3 separate regions of the Homo sapiens genome follow, and all the other regions are linked to region 2. Evidence: promoter capture Hi-C in human tissues and cell types (Jung and others, 2019). All regions are on one chromosome and are shown on one strand. Each heading gives the region's core, a stretch centred on a gene start or on the middle of the fragment in contact. The rest is flanking DNA. Distances are from core to core; before and after follow the strand shown. Region 1 has its middle 5.0 kb from the start of CCDC43. Region 2 holds the start of LSM12 (LSM12 homolog). Region 3 overlaps MEIOC (meiosis specific with coiled-coil domain).

What was found. The method cuts DNA at HindIII sites, captures the fragments that hold promoters and counts their contacts. A contact is called where the count stands out against the background at its distance.
Region 1: a contact is called between a fragment that was not itself captured here and the fragment with the promoter of LSM12 in region 2, in 1 of the 25 tissues and cell types used here (dorsolateral prefrontal cortex).
Region 3: a contact is called between a fragment that was not itself captured here and the fragment with the promoter of LSM12 in region 2, in 1 of the 25 tissues and cell types used here (dorsolateral prefrontal cortex).

Annotation. Positions count from the first base shown.
Region 1 is chr17:44,693,099-44,696,454 of GRCh38, reverse strand. No RefSeq gene overlaps it. Among named protein-coding and RNA genes, the nearest start is that of CCDC43, 5.0 kb to the right of the region's middle. The HindIII fragment of the contact is 6,435 bases long and covers 1-3,356 here.
Region 2 is chr17:44,065,333-44,069,032 of GRCh38, reverse strand. It overlaps LSM12 (LSM12 homolog), which reads left to right and starts at 2,362. Exons shown (of 5, transcript NM_001371445.1): 1 at 2,362-2,569. The coding sequence starts at 2,446. RefSeq lists silencers at 2,280-2,399, 2,690-2,829. The HindIII fragment of the contact is 14,418 bases long and covers 1-3,700 here.
Region 3 is chr17:44,665,817-44,669,289 of GRCh38, reverse strand. It overlaps MEIOC (meiosis specific with coiled-coil domain), which reads right to left. Exons shown (of 8, transcript NM_001145080.3): 5 at 1,057-2,914. Among named protein-coding and RNA genes, the nearest start is that of MEIOC, 11 kb to the right of the region's middle. The HindIII fragment of the contact is 5,508 bases long and covers 1-3,473 here.

The sequences.
Region 1 (3,356 bases), core at 473-2,972, 630 kb before region 2:
TGACCTCAAGTGATCCACCCACCTCGGCCTCTCAAAGTGTTGGGATTACAGGTGTGAGCCATCACGCCCGGCCTACTTCATTTTTTAACGATTTTCTCCTTTTTGTAGTTCTCTTTTTGTATGTTTTATGATGGACATACTAATTTGATATAGCAGTTCACACAAATAATTCATAAATAACTACATATTAGTGCATTAGGTGTACATGCTGAGAATATTTTTACTGCTAAGAGTATGTGGCAAAAATGTCTGATGCTCACTGATCTAGAGGAACTTTCCCATGGTGGGCAAGGGGACCACCTAAGAATGTGAACTGGTGCACTGACTGGAAAACTAGGAACTAACCTCACCATCCATCGGCAGAGGAATGGATCAGCTGGAGCATATTAAAGCAACGGAATACTATGCAGTGATTTAAATGGATGGATAAGAGCTACATATATCAACATGGGTAAAGATATATATAAAATATATATAGATACATATATATTATATATATTTTTTTCTTTTTTTTTTTGAGATGGGGTTTCGCTTTTGTTGCCCAGGCTGGAGTGCAATGGCGCGATCTCGGCTAACCGCAACCTCCGCCTCCCGGGTTCAAGCGATTCTCCTGTCTCAGCCTCCCAAGTAGCTGGGATTACAGGCATGTGCCACCAAACCTGGCTAATTTTGCATTTTTAGTAGAGATGGGGTTTCTCCATGTTGGTCAGGCTTGTCCCGAACCCCTGACCTCAGGTGATCCGCCCGCCTTGGCCTCCCAAAGTGCTGGGATTACAGGCATGAGCCACCGTGCCCGGCCATATACACGTATATATTTTTTGAGACAGGGTCTTGCTCTGTCACCTAGGCTGGAGTGCAGTGGCGCAGTCTTGGCTCACTGCAACCTCCGCCTCCCAGGTTCAAGCTATTCTCCTGCCTCAGCCTCCTAAGTAGCTGGGATTACAGGCGTGCGTGACCACGCCCAGTTAATTTTTGTAGCTTTAGTAGAGATGGGGTTTCACCATGTTGGTGAGGCTTGTCTCAAACTCTTGACCTCAGCTGATCCACCCGCCTAGGCCTCCCAAAGTGCTGGGATTACAGGCATGAGCGACTGCGCCCGGCCCAACATGGGTAAATATTTTAAACAACCTTGAGTGAAAAAGCACATTGCAGAATGAAAAGTACAGCATGCACACCAATGTGATATATTATGGATACATCCATATGTTGTAATATGTATTATATATGTAGCAATGTGTACTATGTTTAAAAACATTCAAGAAGAAAATAAACACCAAATTCAGGAATAGTGGTTACATCTGGGGAGAGAGGGGAGAAAATGAGGTTGGAGAAAGGGCTTCAAATTTGCTTTCTTTTACAAAAAGATACAAAGTAAATAAATATAACAGTTCAAAACCAGTCTCCTTCAGTTCTCCTCCTCAGTGGACAACCATTCTCACATATCCCTGGTGTATCTTTCCAGAGATAGCCTATGCACATACAAGGACACATATGTACATGTATTCCCCTACCCTAACTTCTTTTTAAATAGTGATGGTGGCAAGCATTACATATTGTTGATCTGTACTTTTTAAACAATGTATCTCGAACTTTGATACATGTCAGTGCATAAAGAGCTTCTTTGTTCTTTTTTTTTTTTTTTTTTCGAGACGGAGTCTTGCTCTGTAGCCCAGGCTGGAGAGCAATGGCATGATCTCCTCTCACTGCAACCTCTGCCTCCTGGATTCAAGCGATTCTCCTGCCTCAGCCTCCCGAGTAGCTGGGATTACAGGTGCTTACCACCATGCCCAGCTAATTTTTGTATTTTTAGTTGGCCAGGCTGGTCTCGAACTCTTGACCTCAGGTGATCCACCTGCTTTGGCCTCCCAAAGTGCTGGGACTACAGGCACCAGCCACCGCGCCCGGCCTCTTTGTTCATTTTTTTTTTTTTTTTTACAGCTGTGCAATACTTCTTTGTGTGGCTACCAGAGTTTTTGAACCAGTCTCATATACATAAAATGTAGACTATTCTTTTACTACAAAAAGCTTCACTACAATGAATATCCTTAGAAAAATGTGATTCTACACAAATGCACAGTTTTATTTTTTAAAGACAGAGTTTTGTTCTGTTGTTCAGGCTAGAATGCAGTGGCATCATCATAGCTCATGTAAATTTGAGCTCCTGGGCTCAAGTGATCCTCTTGCCTCAACCTCCTGAGTAGGTAGGACAAAAGACATGCACCACCACTTTTTTTTTTTGTAGAGCTGGGGTCTCATTATGTTGACCAGGTTAGTCTCGAACTCCTGGCCTCAAGCAATCCTCCCTTGTCAGCCTCCCAAAGTACTGGGATTACAGGTGTAAGCCAGTGTGCCTGGCCATTATACAAAATATTAAATCAAAATTTTTTTCTTTTTTTGAGACAGAGTCTCACTCTGTTGCCCAGGCTGGAATGCAGTGGCATTATCTCAACTCACTGCAACCTCCGTGTCCCGAATTCGAGTGAATCTCCTGCCTCAGCTTCTCAAGTGGCCAAGTAGCTGGGACTATAGGCATGCATTACCACACCTGGCTAATTTTTATATTTTTAGTAGAGACAGGGTTTTGCCATGTTGGCTAGACTGGTCTTGAACTCCTGACCTCAGTGATCCACCCACCTTGGCCTCCCTAAGTGCGGGGATTACAGGCGTGAGCCACCGCGCCCAGCCAACCACGCCCAGTTTAAACCACGCCCAGTTTAAACAGGCACCACGCCCAGTTTAAACCAAAAATTTTAAAAATAATTAATACTTAACACTATTAAATCGTATACTTAAAAATAGTTAAGATGGCAAATTGTGTATTTTACCACAAGTAAAGATAAAAATAAATGAATAACTTATGAACAAATTCCCAGAAGCAGAAATGCTGGGTCTTTTCAAACAAACAGTCCTCCAACAAGACCAGATCCATTTACTTTCTGCTCTAACATTTTCCAATGTCTTTTACCCAAGCACAGTTCAATACAGCATATTATCAGACTTTTTTGATCTGAAAAGCGGACGTGGTATTTCACTGCAATCTTAATTTGCGTATTTTATTTTTTGTAAGCTTTCAATTTGTCGCTTATCCATTTATATAATTTTTTCTTTTTTTTTGTTGAGACAGAGTTTTGCCCTTGTTGCCCAGGTTGGAGTACAATGGCGTAATCTCAGCTCACTGTAACCTCCGCCTCCTGGTTTCAAGCAATTCTCCTGCCTCAGCCTCCCAAGTAACTGGGATTACATGCGCCTACCACCATAGCTGGCTAATTTTTTTGTTTTTTTTGTTTTTTTTTGAGATGGAGTCTCACTCTGTTGCCCAGGCTGGAGAGCAGTGGTCAGATCTCGGCTCACTGCAA
Region 2 (3,700 bases), core at 1,113-3,612:
AGAGACGGGGTTTCACCATGTTAGCCAGGATGGTCTTGATCTCATGACCTCGTGATCCGCCCGCCTCGGTCTCCCAAAGTGCTGGGATTACAGGCGTGAGCCACTGTGCCCGGACAATACCAGGAAGTTTTTAATTGCCGAAGAGAAAGCCTACATTGTTTACCGAGTCTTTGAGGTTTGCCCTCAACCTTAAGCAGCCTACTCCCACACTCCGCTTTGTAATATTTCTGACCTATACATTCCTTGAAATCACCAAGTTCTCTCCTCTTAGGGGTCCTGGCCCGTGCAGTTCCCTCTGCCTGGAACATGGCCACTCTTTTTCCTTGCCAATCCTTCAGGTCTCAGTAGAGATTTTTCACTTCCTCCAAGAAGGCCTTTCCTAATGGCTCCTAGAAGTCTTATATGAAAACCTATAATCACGATTCCATATAAAAAGTGGAAAACTGGAATGGCAATTATGTATGATTTATTATGGGGGCCAGAACAAGGATGAGAGGCATGAAAGTTCTCTGAGGCCGGCCACATGGCTCACGCCCGTAATCCCAGCACTTTGAGAGGCCAGCCGAGGCGGGAAGATTGCTTGAGCCCAGGAGTTTGAGACCAGCCTGGCCAACATGGTGAAACCCCATCTGTACTAAAAGTACAAAAATTAGCCGGGCATGGTGGCTCGTGCCTGTAATTCCAGCTACTCCGGAAGCTGAGGCAGGAGAATCGCTTGAACCTGGGAGGTGCGGGTTGCAGTGAGCCAAGATGGCGCCACTGCACTCCAGTCTGGGTGACAGAGCGAGGCTCTATCTCAAAAAAAAAAAAAAAAAAGTTCTCTGAAAAAGCACACTATGAAGGAGCAGAATTTTTATTCCTATTATAATGAGTGTATCAATACTTCCAACACCAGGAAGTTTATGTTTCTTGGAGGGCAAGGAAATACTTTTGAACTTTGTTCAGGTTAAGCCGCGCCAAGACTGGCCCTTTGCTTCCCTCTGGACTAGAGAAAGGTCAACCTGTTTCTTATACATGAAGCGAGGATCCAAAATTTCTATAGTGAGCGGTGGGTGGGTTAGCGACAGCCATTGGTGGTAGTAGGGCTTGAAAATGCACGCTCATAGTCCTTTGCATAAGATTAAGAAAACGACTGTTTTGTACATCAGACGGACATTCAAGGGCAGGGGCGCAAAACCCCTCCTCCAAGCCCCTTTTTGTCACTATCCGCTGCTCCTCATTCCTGCCTTTTGCCTGGCTTTCTGGGAGAGAGGGCAAAAAGGGAGAAGGGGAAGTGTCTTGACTTCTAAGAGTGATGGGTGACTAAGGGGGAACTACCATTTATTAAAGACCTAGTACATGCCATGCACTTATACCCGTTACCGCATTTAAACCTCCTAACTATGAGGTAGGTATTATTATGTAACAGAGTATAGCAGTAAATAGCACCGTCCTTGGAAATAGGCAGACTGTTTTTGCTAGTTGTGGAACCGTGGACAAGTTTAGTCTAAAACTTAGTTTATGTAAAAGGAGGACATTGATTCCTACCTCAAAGGGCTGTTAGATGCTCAAGAAGTGACAATACAAATGCCTATGAAGAAACAGGATCAGGTAATTTGCTTGCTCAAGGTCAGGTGATTTAGTAAGAGGCTGACCTCGGATTCTGGTTCCAGCTTATCTAACTCCACAGCCAATGTTCTTTCCACTATCACTCAGTAGTTATAATCATCTTTTTTTGTTTGTTTGTTTGTTTTGAGACAGAGTCTCGCTCTGTTGCCCAGGCTAGAGTGCAGTGGCACAATCTTGGCTCAGTGCAACCTCCGCCTTCCAGGTTCAAGAGATCCTCCAGCCTCAGTCCCCCTAGTAGCTGGGATTACAGGCACGCGCCACCGTACCCGGCTAATTTTTGTATTTTTAGTAGAGACGGGGTTTCACCATGTTGGCCAGGCTGGTCTCGAACCCCTGACCTCAGGTGATCCACCCGCCTCGGCCTCCCAAAGTGCTGGGATTACAGGCGTGAGCCACCGCTCCCAGCCTTATAATCATCTTGTCCAAGTATCGTTAAGTCCTCTGAGGCTCTGATTCCTCATATGCAAAATGGGGTTAACATATTTTATAAAATTCATTCATTAAACTCTTGTGTGGAAGGTGTGCATATAATGGAGACTGCAGCTCCCTCCTCTTTCCCCTTTTCATTCCACGTAGGTCATTTATCCTTAACTTCTAAAATGGACTCTACAAGCACTTAACCGAGCGGACGCAGCTATACAAATACTTTTCAGATTCCCCTTTATTTCCTCTTCTTTCCCACTCCACCTAGGATCCCGCCCCAACCAGCGCCAGGCCACGCCCCGGCGTGTGACGCAAGCACGCTCCGTGCGCGCCGTCGCGTCGCGGCGCTCACTGGGGGCCCGGCTTTCGCCCGCTGCTGCCGCCGCCGCCGCCGGCCGCGGCTGCACTCCCAAGATGGCGGCTCCTCCGGGCGAGTACTTCAGCGTTGGGAGCCAGGTGTCGTGCCGGACGTGCCAGGAGCAGCGGCTGCAGGGCGAGGTGGTAGCCTTTGACTACCAATCCAAAATGCTGGCTTTAAGTATCCTTCCCTGCGTGAAGCCCGAGTCCGGGCCGGCGTGTAGGTGCGGTGGTCGGGGGGTGGGGGACGACGGCGGCGGCTGGGGCTCTCTCCGGGCCTAGGGGCGACCGGCTACCGCGGCGCCCGGGGCGCATGCGCACGGCCCTGAGCTCCCCTCCCCCTCCCGCGGGCCCTTCGGTCAGCTTTGGGGATCCTGTCTCTCTCTCTTTGCGGGAGCTGGGGCTTTACCGAGGATCAGTGGGTGGAGGAGGGCTTGACACGGGGATGGCTTTTTGGGGGGAACGTTATGAGAGGGGACACAGTAATTAGGAGAGGGGGTGGTGGTGGGAGGGGGCTGATGGATTGGAGCCCGGATGGAAAGGAGGGGCGGGTGAAATATTATGGGGAGGGGTGTTTAGGGTAAGGAACTGCTGGTAGGGCAAAGGTATGGAATTTAGGAGGGCATGTGCACTGATGGGATTTCGTCCAAGGAAGGGCGGTGGGATGGTGACCAAATTGGTCCTTGCCTGTTTTGGGGGAGAGTAAGTTCAGGGCAGAGTTTGTATCTGAGCTAGGGATAGTGGCTTGTTTCGCTGATGCGTGTGTATGTGTGGTGGGGGGGCTGTGCTGATTTTTAGGCTTCTCGGTCATTTGGAAGTTGCTGTTTAGGGGATGTTTGCACTGGAAACCTGTTCCAGAGAGGGCTTGCCAGGGGCTTATGTGGTTTGGGGATGTGTGAGTTACAGGTGAAAGAGTGAAGTTCTCATGCTGCCTTGATCAGTCCAGCACATGGAGTCCTTTTACGTAGTAGCAGCCTCCCTTTTGAAAGTAGCAATGTTAAACTGATTGGAAAAGGTGGCCTGCTTCTTTGGGGTGGAAGTGACTTCTGAATTACTCCAGGAAACTCAGTCTTGGAAATGAAACACTTCCTTGTTGGGATAAATGTGCCACGGCTTCCCTTTTTATGTGAGCCACAGGTGGGTTTATTGGAATTTTTTTTTGGAGGAGTAATTTTTTATGGCATCTTTTTTTTTTTTTTTTTTTTAAGATGGAGTCTCGCTCTGTCGCTAGGATGGAGTGCGGTGGCGCAATCTCGGCTCACTGCAACCTCCGACTCCCTGGTTCGAGCGATTCTCCTGCCTCAGCCTCCGG
Region 3 (3,473 bases), core at 159-2,658, 600 kb before region 2:
ACCACTTTAAATGAAAATTCTGTTTTGGTATCAAAAGACAACAAATGTAAACCACAATACCACAGTATTTTTCTATCTTTTTTTTTTCAGATGGAGTCTCACTCTATTGCCCAGGCTGGAGTGCAGTGGTGCAGTCTCGGCTCACTGTAACCTCCGTTTCCCGGGTTCAAGCGATTCTCCTGCCTCAGCCTCCCGCGTAGCTGGGATTACAGGTGCCTGCCACCACGCCTGGCTAATTTTTTGTATTTTTAGTAGAGACTGGGTTTCACCATGTTGGCCAGGCTGGTCTCCAACTCCTGACCTTGTGATCTGCCCACCTTGGCCTCCCAAAGTGCTGGGATTACAGGCGTGAGCCACCGCGCCCAGCTATCGTCTTAATACAAATAAAATACCTGAGTATACCAACAGGTTAACACTACAAAATTCAAAGAAATAAACTTGTAACAACTAAGGGGGTAAAAAATCTACTTCAGGGCAAGTCAACTTAGAATAACAATAACTTTAAAATGTCAAGCATTTTTCATCTTCATTTATTTAAGCTTCCCATTGGCCAACCCCATCCATTTTTAGTTTTTAAGTAACCCACTTAATTCCTTACAGTAATGAACTTACAGCAAATCCTGGACATTATAGAATTCAGCTCAGAAATAAGGCAAGTTAGCCGGGTGCAGTGGCTCACATCTGTAATGCCAACACTTGGGACATCAAGGTGGGAGGATGGCTTGAGGCCAGGGGTTTGAGACCACCGTGGGGAACATAGTGAAACCTAATGTCTACAAAAAATTAAAATTAGCCAGGCATGGTGGCATGTGCCTGTAGTACTAGCTACTCAGGAGGAGGAAGGATTGCTTGAGCCCAGGAGTTTGGTTACAGTAAACTATGATTCTGCCACTGTACTCCAGCCTGGGCAACAGAGCGAGACTCTGTCTCTTTAAAACAACAACAAATAAAGCAAAAAGAAATAAGGCAAGTACTCTTACACTACACTAAGGTAAACAGAATGAAGACAGGCAAAAGGAACATACTGTTATTCCTAAGTGGTTAACTTTGTGTTACCTTTTTTCTCTCTTTTTCTAATGCTCTCCATTGTTCACAGCACTCTTCTAGACGAATATGAAGTTCACTGGCTGGTCCACTACGGGTTTTAATTGGTCTTTGAAATCCAAAAGTTGGCATGAGACCAGAAAAAGAATTATCACCATACATCATATTAAAATAAGGGTACAAATGGCTTAAGTCATCATAAGAAAGTAAGTCATAGGAATCCAACAGTGGAACAACTGAATGGCCAAATGGGTGGGTGGATCTTAGGGGAAACCCATTTGAACCAAGTTGTTGAAAACACTGATTATGCCTTAAATCTCCCATCATATAATTATTAGAAAAGCATGACACTTGTGTGCGATTCACACGGCTATTGTCTCCACCTCTCGTTCTGTGGCTATTAGAATGACCCTGTGACTCCAGTAGATCTTGGTATGTATTTTGTGATAAGCCATCTAAATGCTTTGGACCTTCCTCAGGATCATAATGTCCACTCTGGGGCTTGGCTTGAAAATTATGTTTGTTTACATTTTCAATTATCCCATACTTCTGAGCTGAATAGTTATCACAAAATCCATTTGGCTGCTTTATTTTTTTATCCGTAACCAATTTGAAGAGATTTTCTTCTCCAGGCTTTGTTAGTCCTTCTATGTGATTGACAGATTGGATTCTTTCTGCACCACTGTAACTAAAATCAAAACTAGAAAATGCTGAAGGGTTTTCTTGGCAATATTTCTGAAATAAATTGCTATTTGGGGTTAAGTTTGTGGATGATAGTTGGGGGAAATCTGAAGAATGGTTAGAACCTTTTGAAGCTGCACTTAAATGACTATTTAATTTCATCAAGTTACCTTGATTTCGATAAGGAATAGGAGTGTTATTTTTTGTTTGAACATTCATCCAAGTTGGTCTGTTTAAATTGATACCTCCTGAAGATGTTGCTGAGTTTGATAATAAATTCACTGATTTAAAATACTCAGAATGTGGGGGATCAGGTTTAGCAAACTGTTGCTTTTCTGTGACGTTAGCAAAATCATTAGCGGGACAAGCTGTGTGAGGTTTTAGTCCATATTCTGATGTTAAGCCAAAATCAGCAGTGAATACTGCTTCCTTTGCAAACTGTTTCTCTGTCAGATGTGGCGTAGTTTTTGGAAATGTGAAATTCTGCTGATCAGGGATTGTCTCCTCCATTTTTTTCTGATTCGCTGGCTTAACCTGAAATAACTTTGTGTAGGTGTCTGCTTCTACAGTTGGTGTTTCAGGTGTGCCATTGGCTAATTTTTTGCTATCTTGGACACTAAAATTTGAACATTTATTAAGCTTAGCCTTATTAGGATGAACATACTCTGGGTATCTACAATAATCTACATTTTCATTGTATCTATTAAATTGAGAAAGAAACATCTCTGCCCTTTTTTGCTGTAGTGGTGCTTCAAGACCTTTAGTACATATTCTGTCTCTTCCATAATGGTAGATATCAACTCCTGATTCTTTCATGATATCAGACAGACCAGTTTGGGGTGTAAAACAGTTTTTGATAAGTGGATATTCTTGGAATGTTGTCTTAGCTGTATCATTTGTCTGAATATTGTGACAGTTAGAATGATCACTTCGTGAGGGGTACATCCATTGTTCTTCAAGATCTAAACCAGTAAATCCATGATGAAGTTCATCTATTTTTTGTTGTGGTGTGAGATTACTGTTACGCAGGTATTGCTTTTCCATTGCTGACACAGATTCATCACTATAAAAAGCTTGCTGAGAGATGACTGTATCTATTGGCCTTTTGGTTTCTGTTAAGAGGTCATGGTGATCTGCAAATCTGCTTGTGTTCATTGGCCAAACTGACTTTAAATTGGAGGAGCAGGTCCTAGAACAAATAAATATATTTAATTACAACTTAGGTTTTAAAGACTTTATTTCTTCAGTGGAAAAGGGAGAAAAGGTCTTCAAAAACATTTATCTTGCCCCATGTCACCATTCTCTAATCCCTTTCAACTCTGCTTTATAAGCTACCATTAGCTCCAGATAATTATCTGTCACATGAAATGTGCTGTATGTTACATAAATATGCATTTTAATGTCTTCGCTGTACTTTCCCAAGAGACAATAACTAAGGCCTAATATGTGACTTCATGGTCTTAGATGAATTATTTATCTATAGTAAGCAGAAAATAAGTTTTTCCTTTGCTTAGGTTATTACATAAAAGCATTGTTGACCACAGTTTTTTTTAATGAAAAAAATGTGTTTTGCTTAAACTTTGTGAAATTAAAATATTTTAATTGGTTATATGTGTGCTACATACTTCCCTATTTATGAAATAGTATATTTGGGTAATATAGCTTCCACACTTCAATAAAACAATTGAAACATTACAAAATTTTCTAACACATGAATAAAATCCATATGTATTTCTGCATAGTAGTAA